Linked DNA regions of Homo sapiens: region 1 is linked to region 2. The links are contacts of gene promoters, found by promoter capture Hi-C in blood cells and fetal thymus (Javierre and others, 2016). All regions are on one chromosome and are shown on one strand. The core of a region is centred on a gene start or on the middle of the fragment in contact, and the rest is flanking DNA. Distances in the headings are between cores, read along the strand shown.

The links. The method cuts DNA at HindIII sites, captures the fragments that hold promoters and counts their contacts. A CHiCAGO score of 5 or more calls a contact.
Region 1: a contact is called between a fragment that was not itself captured here and the fragment with the promoter of MINDY3 in region 2, in 1 of 17 cell types (M2 macrophages). The highest score is 5.1, in M2 macrophages.

What each region holds. Positions count from the first base shown.
Region 1 is chr10:18,202,535-18,208,180 of GRCh38, forward strand. All of the region lies in intron 2 of CACNB2 (calcium voltage-gated channel auxiliary subunit beta 2), which reads left to right. Among named protein-coding and RNA genes, the nearest start is that of CACNB2-AS2, 56 kb to the right of the region's middle. The HindIII fragment of the contact is 3,594 bases long and covers 1,510-5,103 here.
Region 2 is chr10:15,856,892-15,862,044 of GRCh38, forward strand. It overlaps MINDY3 (MINDY lysine 48 deubiquitinase 3), which reads right to left and starts at 3,616. Exons shown (of 15, transcript NM_024948.4): 1 at 3,315-3,616. The coding sequence starts at 3,408. It overlaps LOC124902383 (a long non-coding RNA gene), which reads left to right. Exons shown (of 4, transcript XR_007062071.1): 4 at 1,032-1,909. RefSeq lists an enhancer at 3,358-3,407. The HindIII fragment of the contact is 10,196 bases long and covers 200-5,153 here.

The sequences.
Region 1 (5,646 bases), core at 2,057-4,556, 2.3 Mb after region 2:
CTCATCTGTAAAGCAAGGATAATAATACACAATCTATAAGGGCTTAAGCAAATTAGAGATGATATAGTTTAAGGATTTAGTATAGTTCCTGGAACAGAGTAATTTCTCAGTCATTGGCCGCCCAATGGCATGAATTGAAAAGGTTGAGCCAGTGTCTATAGTTCCAGAACCATTCTCAGGTTCTATTTTGGAATGTTTATCTCTTCTGTGTTGTGGCTGTGGAGTAAGATCCATCTGGAATGTAGTAACGTCAAGAAATAGCAAGTTCTTTGCCTTTCTGTCTTTGTTTCAGGAAGCACATACTTTGTAATCTGTGACATTTTTATGCTGAAATTCCCTTTCTTGACATACAGACTGACACTGTATAATTCAGTCAGTTTCCTATTATCTCTGTTGTTAAGCAAGACTGGATTTTCATCACTGGGAAAGCTGTTAACAGAGTCCCCATTAAGCGAGCCATCACTGAACATTTTCCTTGATTGATGCTTTAAGATTCTGTCACTCACTCTTTGAAAATATCAGACTACAGGGTCTGAAGCAGGTTTCTGCAATATTCTGCAGTACCTCATGGGTACAAAAGAGACACAGGAATATGCCACAGCATCTAGATCCAATTCTTAGTGAAAATTTTGTTCTTTCATCTGTATTCTGGTCAGCCAGCTTGAAGTAGACACAGGCAGATGCTTGGAGAGTCGAAATTATAGCCGAATGATATCACAGAGTAGTTAAATACCAGCCAAGCTGTGGTTGCAGCATGGCAACTTTACAAGCCGGGCAGGTTAGCATGGATGCTGTGAAAAGTGACCCCTCTATCTGAAAAAGGGTTTTGTACCTTGGCTGGCATTAGTCACTTTTCCTTGTTTGATATTTACAGCTTTCTCTTGTCCTTTGTATCCTTTGGGTAACACACCGTGAGTGAGAGCAGAAAAGCTTTCCTTATAAAGGTAGCAATTTTATTCAAGATTAAAATGCTCTATTTTTCCACATTACATCAATGAGTACCTTCAAAAAAAGATGACTTAATGAGGGGGAAACATGAATAAATAAACACCCACACGTACATACATATGTATGTGTGTATATACATAGAGAAACATAACGGGGCGAGTGATCGTTGATTATTTTAGCGGAGGCTGTAGAGGGAACAACACAATTACATATATGGTAATGAAGAATGAACAAGTAATTGTGTTGTAATTTCCCTCTGCTTTTTGCTAGTGGTGACTGTTATGAAAAGCAGGTTGTTGGAATAAAAAAAAAGATACTAAATAAAGAACCGTAGTTCTTATAATAGCATTTTATAGTCTGTCTTTTGAAATATACTAAAATTTTTCACAATCCATGTTTCTCTGCTTTTGCCAATTGTGTTTGTGATTGTTCATTTGTGCATAGAAGTTTCAGTAGGAAAATACAGTCGTTTTTGTAAAGGTTGGATTTATAAGCTTCAATAAAAACAGGCTCATTCAAACAAAAAAGCAATCAGATTGCAAAATGGCAAATAAAAGAGGAAGCTTATCCTTATAGGAGAAAAAACGTTTAATTTTAACATTATGTTTAAATAGACAAAGAGACCTACTGCAGACTTTTAAAGTGTTCATTTTGCTTCCGTTGCTGCAGTTCAGCTTACAGATGGTCCCTACGATAGTTGCTATAGAAACCAAACCTTTTTCATCAATCTCTCCCTGTTGCTATGGTGTGTTTGCAGCCACTGCATGTAAACTTTTGTATAAAGTGTCATTTATGCTTTTCATGACTGACCTTATAATGAAACATATTGATTATACATTAACCAACAAAGTCTAGCATGAAATGACACATCACCACTAAACACCCGTTACTAAGTAGAATAGGTGGACCTAACATTATTTGTAGATGTGAATTGTGCCTTTGTTAACCAGGCTATTTGAAATATCAGTGGGATAAGGAAATCTTGCTCTAATTGACAAAAGCAGAATCTTTTATTTTCTTTCTTGAAAGTGATAGTTTTTCTTTTAAAATTTAGTTTCTTCAAAGTTAAACCTGTCATAGGATTCAAATTTCCTGCTTTGTAATTTTTGCTCTGACATTTTATGTGTGGCCTTAGGCCACAAAATCATTTAACCTCTGGATTTAGTGAGATAACAAAACTATGGCATGATAGATTTGGATGTGTTAAGCTCTGCGAGGGCAAGTACACTACCTGTTTTGTTTACCGTTATACATTCAGAACTTGGTGATATCCAGACAAACAGCCTAGAATACAGTAAACATTCAAAAGTACTTGTTGAGTAAATGAATATACATGTTATTGCTTCTGATCACATATGCATTCCATACTGTACTTTCTGTATAGAGTCAATTTCAAGAGTAGGCTTCATTTCATTTTAATGCCACAAATATTTAATGAGTTCCTACTAGTGGTAAAATGCTTCACTTCTTGCTGGATTCCTTAAACTTTACCAGAAAAAAAAAAAAAAAAAGGTCTGGCTTTCATGCCCAAGACTCTATATTCCAAACTCTCTAATGTTTATACATTTGTAGATGTCAAGTGTTTTTTGTTTTTGAGGGTTTTTAAAAAAAAATTCTTAAGATCTGTATCATTGAATAGAAATTTCCTGGACTTTCCTTTCAACATATGTTATTAACATGACAGTTATCTGTCCAGTGGTTAGAAGCATGGTCCTTTGAATCAGAAAGACTTGAGCATTAACTTACTACCTCTGCACTATTGGGAAGGTTACATCCCTTTGCTAGCCTCAGTTTTCTCATCCGTATAATGGGGACACTAATACCTAACTCATATAGTTATTGTGAGAATTGAATGGGATTTATAAAGTACTAAGCGCAGCAATTAGCCCAGCGAGCACTCGTAAATGGTAGCTGTTATTGTTGTCTATATATGCATAGAGGATGCGCATGACTAGTTTGTTGAACAGTCAAAAATCTGTGAATTTTACTATTTTTATTTCCATTCAATGCCTCTAACTGTGTGCCATGACAGCTCTTTCTTTTCCACTGGGTGAGCACATTTTCTTAATATTTGGTGTATTGTTTAATGTACCAGTCATTTTGGATTTAAACAACAAAATTCTATGCAGCTTAAAATTCCATTCACAAATATGAATGAAATCTGATCTCCATGACCTCCAAACCACACTTCTGAGTCTTAGAATTGGATGGGGTCCTTGGCCTGATCTTCAATTCTTTCTTCTATTCCAGCTTACTGGAGTGGAGAGAAGAGGGTAGTGTTTCAATGTTCCCTGCTCCTCATCAAAACCTAACTCCTCCAGTGATTTAGATCAGAAGTCAAGGAGGCAAAGAGTTTCTACAACCCATCAGAGACAGGAAGGCATCTTTGTTCTTGCTCCAATTTGCAAGGGTTCCATCTGTTGATGCTTACCTCTGTGGGGTGGGTCCAGGGAGAGAGAATCTACGGTTTTCAGTCTCCCCAGGCCCTCTCCATCTATGAGAATTTTTTTGTTTGTTTGTTTTGAGATGGAGTCTTGCTCTGTCACCCAGGGTAGAGTGCAGTGGTGCAATCTTGGCTCACTGCAATCTCCACCTCTCGGGTTCAAGTGATTCTCATGCCTCAGCCTCCCAAGTAGCTGGAACTACAGGCATGCACCACCATGGCTGCCCAGTTAATTTTTGCATTTTTAGTAGAGACAAGGTTTCGCTATGTTGGCCAGGCTTGTCTCAAACTCCTGACCTCAGGTGATTCACCCGCCTCAGCTTCCCAAAGTGCTGGGGACTACAGGCGTGAGCCACTGCGCATGGCCATCATCCATGAGGATTCTTAGAGACACATAGCTGTATCTCCTTTGTCTCCTGAAGGCAGTCCTCTTCCCTGACTTCCTCTCTCCAGATGGGGCATCCACTGCTCGGGCTATTGCCTGGGCATCCCTACTATGTCCACCTCATCCTCCCACCTGTGTATTGTGTCACATGGAGCCACAGAAACAGCAGCATTGTGCAGTCACTTCTTTCTCTCCCATTCCCCTCATGCTGTGCATGTTCCTTCTTTTCCCCGATGGGACCAACTGCTCCAGCCAGCCACTCTCTGGCTTTCAGACATGTCTAAGGAAATGTAGGAGCAAGACGCAGGCTGCGTCCATGTACTTCCCTCAAATTCCAGAAAGGGGCACATGCAGATTCTCACATGAACGTCCCAGTGTGCTCCAGTCCTCTCCAAAAAGCATGCTGGGGGGCGCAGTAGTGGTGCCTTCTGCACTGCAGCTTAGCAAGCAAAGTGGGGAGGGTAATGCCGGGCTCCATTTTTCGCTGGAAGGTGAAGTAAGACATGCCAGTGTAAGCATTAAGCCAACCAAAGTTTTAAGTCCACTGTTGGGGAGGGATTGGTGCAGTAGTTCCCAATTATCCATGGTTTTCTTTCAAGATTTCAGTTAATCGAGGTCAACTTGAGTACAGTACAATAAAATATTTTGAGGGAGAGACGACATTCACATAACATTTATTACAGTATATTGTTATAATTCTTCTATTTATTTATTTAGAGACAGAGTCTCACTCTGTCACCCAGGCTGGAGTGCTGTGGCATGATCTCAGCTCACTGCAACCTCTACCTCCCGGGTTCAAGTGATTCTCCTGCCTCAGCCTCCCTAGTAGCTCAGACTACAGGCGTGAGCCACCACACCTGACTAATTTTTGTAGTTTTGGTAGAGACAGGGTTTCACCATGTTGGCCAAGCTGGTCTTGAACTCTTGACCTCAGGTGATCCGCCTACCTCTGCCTCCCAAAATGCTGGGATTACAGGCATGACCTCCCAAAATGCTGGGATTACAGGCATGAGCCACTGCACCCAGCCAATAATTGTTCTATTTTATTTTTAGCTATTGTTAATCTCTTACTGTGTCTGACTTAGAAATTAAACTGTATCATAGGTGTGTATGTATAGGAAGAAACAGTATATCAGAACTATCCATGGTTTCAGGCATCCACCAGAGGTCTTGGAAGGCATCCCTCATGGATAAGGTGGGGTGGGGGAGAAACTATATATCTTAGTTAATAAGCATTACTAGAATGTTACAAAATATATTGAAGTTTGTAACATATAGAAATCATGTGTCACTTAAATCTGTAATGTAAACACCTGCAGTACTGCAAAGCTTAGAAAATTGCACACATTCATTTACCTTTTGACTAATTTTTGTTCTTTCTTTTCAAATATATTTAACATGTACATGGGCATGATGTATTATGTTGCATGTTGCATATCACATAGCAAAACTTTAGCTTCATTTGTTACTTAAGAACCATTATTATTAAAAGCATCATATTGTATACTATATATATAGTTTCTATTTGTCAATTTAAAAAATAGTTTACAAATAAGTAAAAAGAATCATCGTTATGAAAAAGGAGTTATCATTGTACCAGCAAAAAGGAGAGTGAATTAACAGTTTTGATGTAGAATTCTGCATAGTAGAAGTTGACATATGTATGCTTTGTATGTGCTGCTTTTAAAAAATCTCAAGTTTCTATTTAAACCCTGAATTTTAGAAACCTACGAATATTAGTTGCATCTTTCTTGTCAGAGGAACTATAAAAACACTTTAACACAAATGCTAAACCCTAAAACCCAAACAGGTAAATGAGCCCATGGACTGATAAGCCTTTAGCCATTTAGAAGGAGCTTCAAAAAGGCTG
Region 2 (5,153 bases), core at 2,366-4,865:
GCATCTTTTCTCCCCTGGACTGCTGCCATTGTCTCTTATCTGATCTTGCTGTCCCAATCCACTACAGTCTATCCTCAAACACAGCAGGCAGATCAGTCCTTTAAAAACTTGTCAAGTAGTATCTCTCCTTTGCTTCAAACCTTCGAAGGACCCCTATTTCATGTATAAGATGAGTGAAAGTCCTTCTAATGGCCTAGAAAGCTTTATATGATTTGGGCCATTTCATTTCTTATATCATCTTTTATTACTCTCCTTTTCCTTTATTCCCCCTCCTGCCACACTAACTTCCTTCTTGTTCCTTAAACAGACCAAGTGTATTTTCTGTGAAGTTTTTTATAACTACCATTTGTTCTGCCTGGAGCACTCTTTCTTCCGACTTCTGCATGACTAGCTGAGTGACTCCAAGTGTTTGCTCAAATCTCATCTTAAAATGAGGCCTGACCAGGACACCCCACCCAGAACTCTGTATTTCCTCATCTTCAAACTATTTATTGTACATGTGTAATTTATGCTACGTTATATTTACTGTTTGTCTTCCCTCCCACCCTACTGACTCTCAACTGTAAGAGCTTGGAATACTGGTGTAGTTTGTGGGAAGGGGGGAGGATAAATAGTGTTAATGAGCTAAGGAAGTGAAAATTATATGCTATTCTTTAAAAAGTACTATAGGCAATTGAGCAGGAGGAAAGCAGAGAGAAGAATAAATTTTCACGTTAAAATAAAACCCTGCCAACTTTAAGCCCTTAAATTACATGGCTTATTGCCTTTAAAATTAAAACTGCCCAAAAAAAGAAGAAGAAAAAAAACACCCCGCATTTTTTAAAACGAACAGGGATTTGTAGAAGAGAATTATCTAAAAATGTCAAGCCAATTAAAAACAACTATGTGCCACTCCTGCAGCTTATTGTTTTAACAACCATATCAAAAGAATTTAACTTGATCAATCAATATAATTTTATAGATGAAATATCTCTAGACATAATTGTATAAATATTCATGCCAAACATCTTACATCTGTATCTTGCTTCCAGAAAACTAATGAGACTGCAGTTGTCAACTGAAGACACGATCACAGACTATGAAATAAAGCCAGAGTTGATGTCACATTAGTAATGCAGCAAAGCAGTGTCTTGTGCCTGTTCCCACAATCCCAAAGGACTGCCACAGCAATATTTAGCAATGGCCTCAAAGAACAAACAAATGAATACAACAGTTAACATATCAAAACCAGTAACAGGACCCCTCTGATTCAGAGGCGATAACTTCAAAAATATATGTTTGGTTGCCTTAAAATCTTAATCAGTGTAAGGCCTTGAAGAGCTACATATCCAAAATATAACTAACTGCACCCTGTAAACGAAAAAAAGAAAGAAATCCTTTATTTTGAAATGGTACTGATGGAACTAATCCTGTTAAAGAATTTCTGCATGATTAAAGGTGGCAGAGCGTTCTAATAAGTCATTATAAAGTTCTATTTAGAATAATGATTAGCCATCAAATAAACAACTTATTGTAATTGTCAGGAAAAAGCCAAAGAGTGAATTTGGCATAGTCTACAATTAAACACTTTTTAAAATAATATAAAAACAGCTACCATATACTGAGTGTTCACTATACGTCAGATAGTGTGCTAAGCACCTAAATTATTTACATGGCCTCTAATCCTCACAATAACTCTGTAAGGTCTATTATCTGTACTTTACAGAGAAGGAAACTGAGGCTTAAATAAGCTAAATCACATGAACCTGAACCAAGTACATCTATTCCAGACTGTGCTCTTAACCATTACTAGAACTGCCACCCTGAATCTTCCTTGTATTTGCATTACAGTATAAATATAAACAGGGCTGAATATTATCTTATTCTACTTTGTAAAATGTTTAATAAATGTTAACTGATTACAATGGAAGTAAATTTTTTCTTAGTCTTTCACAGTATTTTAGAGCTGCTTACTATTAGAATAAGTAAGTCAAAGTGGGAAGTGTTAAAATAAAATCTCCCTCTAAGAAGCCCAAGATTAGGTAACTGACATAATTGAATGTGAAAAAAAAGAGCCCAAGTCATTACATGTAGGGTTTGGGAACTCAAAGGAAGATAATGAAAACAGAGGTATATTAGGAATCGAGAGACCTGGAATCCACTCCCAGTTCTATCGATTTGTGCAACTTTGGCCCAGTCATTTACCTTTACAACTAATTTTTTTCGCCTGCAAAGCAACAGTGAGGGACTAAATATCCCAACTTAACAATACATCGTAATTGTAATTTTACCAGCTCTTAAAACAAACATGTGGGAGGGAGGGAGAGATTACGTAAATCCTGAATTTTTGTTACAAAATACACGTTTTGAAATAGGGGTTTATATTTACTATGCCAAAATTCCGCCCAATCTATTTCGGGAACAGGTGTTCCCTAAATAGATGTTTTAATAATAATAGTGTTTTACATACATAAATTATTGATCCTTCTGACTCAAGGTTATGTTTTAACCTCATCATCATCTTTCCTAAGTCACCTTTAGGAATGTGTCAGTTGTTTGCCTATCCAAACTTAAGAATTAGGGATAGTTACTAGTATAAAGCGCCCAGCCTGTTACAGTGCAAGAATTCAATAAATGCTTATTTTATTTCATTATTATTTGTACTAAGACTCTTCATGTAAGTAAAAGTCCTGTCTGGGTTACAAGCATACCGGCCGAGGAAGTACTATGATCCATATTCCTTTTTTAACCGTGACAGATAATAAACCATATAAAAAACGGGGATACTTTGGGCCAAGAGTACACTTTTTAGCAAATAACAGTGTTTATACACAGACTACCACGCCTAACCACATAATGACAATACAAACAAAAAACTGCTTTTTGGAATTAGCCACTTGGACTTTCCCTTGGACGTCCCTCCTTCTCACCAAAAATAGACCAACCACCACCAATAGACAGCTCTGTTAGGGGGTAAAGATGCGGAAGGCCACAGCACCCCTTGAGAAAGTGACACCGGGGCACGGGGCGCATCTTCCGTGTCACGCCCTGCAACCCAGCAAGGGGCCACCCTCTCCTCCTCCCCAGCCGAAGGGCAGCCCGGAGGATGGAAAGAGCGCTGCGGGTATTTAGTGGCAGCTGTAACCATTCTCCTACTCAAACTCTCCCCACCAAGGCAAGGCAGGGCGTGTCTAGAAAGTCCAGCTTCAGCGCTGAGCACGGCGACTGGGGCAGAGAGCGGGGCACGCGAGGGGCTGGAGCGAGAGGCGTCACAGGCGGACTCTCGCAGGGCAAAAGAAGCAGCGGCTGCAAGTGTGAGAGCCCCGCCAGGGTACCTTGCGTCCAGCGGCAGAAAATGGTGTCCGAGAGACCGGGGCTGCTCTTGGTGCCCCACACCAGCTCCATCAGCTCTTTAGTCAGTTCGGACATGATGAGGAACCGGCGGGCGGATCTTCGCTTTGCGGACTCCTGCCCCGGAACATGGGGAAGGGGCAACTCCGGAAACAGCAGCTGCGGGACGGCGGCGGCAAACGAATTGGAAGGTGAGGCAGGAAAGAAGAAGGGGCTGAGAGCCACTTGCAGAGACCAAGCCTGTCAAGCCAGGTTGGGGCAGCAGCGAGTTTTCCGTACCGGAAGTGCTGGTGCCACTTCCGACTCCTCTTTAACTCCCGCCCCTTAAGGCTGAGGGCCCGGAAGTCCCCTCCCCGGAAGTGAAATTGGAGGCGGAAACAGGCACGGAAAGCGGTGGAAGTAGCTTCTGACCTTTCTGAACTGTCTGGGACCCTTTGGTGGGGTGGTAGTTTTTGTATTGGGAAGGGGCGTCGGCGTGTTTCTAAACTCCAGGAATACCTTCTTCCTCTACGCACTGCTCTGGGCTAAGCTGGAGGCTCTGAGGCCCAGGCACTAGGAATTAGAACATATGCCCATTGCTTGTATTTTTCAATATTAATTTTGCAAAACTAGAACTATAAGGCAATAGTTGAGTCACAGTGCGGTAACATCCGTGCCTTTGTAGGGCGCTTCTCATAAGCTGGAGGCTGTCCGCCTCTGTACTTCAATAAATCAAAGTCAGACCAACTATTACCTAAAAACATGGCAAAGAATGTGGCATAATGTGCATTAGAAATGCTTCCACCAGCTGCAACGCAGAATTACAAGGTATTTGTAGGGAAACAAATTCAGAGCAACCTGTTTGTAAATGTTACAGCATTTTCATCTCCAGTTTTTGACACTGCAGAGTGTGTGGGCAACACCTGGACTAAAGTTTAGGTTTTACTCATTAACTAGCAGTTAAATTGAGTTCATGTGAAAACTTATGTTTGTGCTGCTTAAAAAAAGAGGGCTTGTATTGCCCGAGCTTTGAATTTAAAACGAAAGGGCAAAATCTGATTTAAAAAAAAATACATGCTTTTATTTTGGTTCTGTAAGGTTTCTGTACTCCTTGGAAACCATATTACTTTGGGATGCAGTAATGCAATAGTTAAGAGGCCAAGCTGTGGGTCATACTGGCCCATATTCCTACCTTTTGCACTTACTAGCAAGTTACCTACTATCTACCTAGGCTTTTTTCTTTCTAAAAGGGAGATTGCATACATTTCATATATTGTAAGGAATAAATGGAAAAAGTAACACATACAAAGGATTTGGTGTACTTCCTAGCACATGGAAGGCATTTATGCAACAGTGGGTATTTTTTTTACCTCAAGAAGCCATTTTGTGGGAATTTGATGCAACAGTAGTTCTGACTTTTTTACCCATAAATTCTAGCCAGTTGTATTTTAGTATAATACGTTATGTTCTCTAATTTCAAAAACATGCAGTTTCATTGTAGAATACCCTTGCATTTGGCTAATTAAAATTAACCCTTAATTTAAAATCTTTTAGATTGCAAATAAGGTTTTGTTAATTTATGCTTTATTACTAGCTATTTTTTCCTATTTATACGTTATTTCTAATTTTATTTTAATTAATTTAATTTTATTTCTTCAGTACCCTTTACTGTAATTACAGGGACTTGCCCAAAGTGCCTGTAGTAGAGCCATAGCATTCCTTTTGATCTTTATTCCCTTTAGAATATCCCTTGCCTTGTTTTTGCAAATCAAATCTTACCTATCCTTCATGTCAGAGTGTGCATGCCAAACTTTCTCCAGTCATTACAATTGAAAGTAATAATT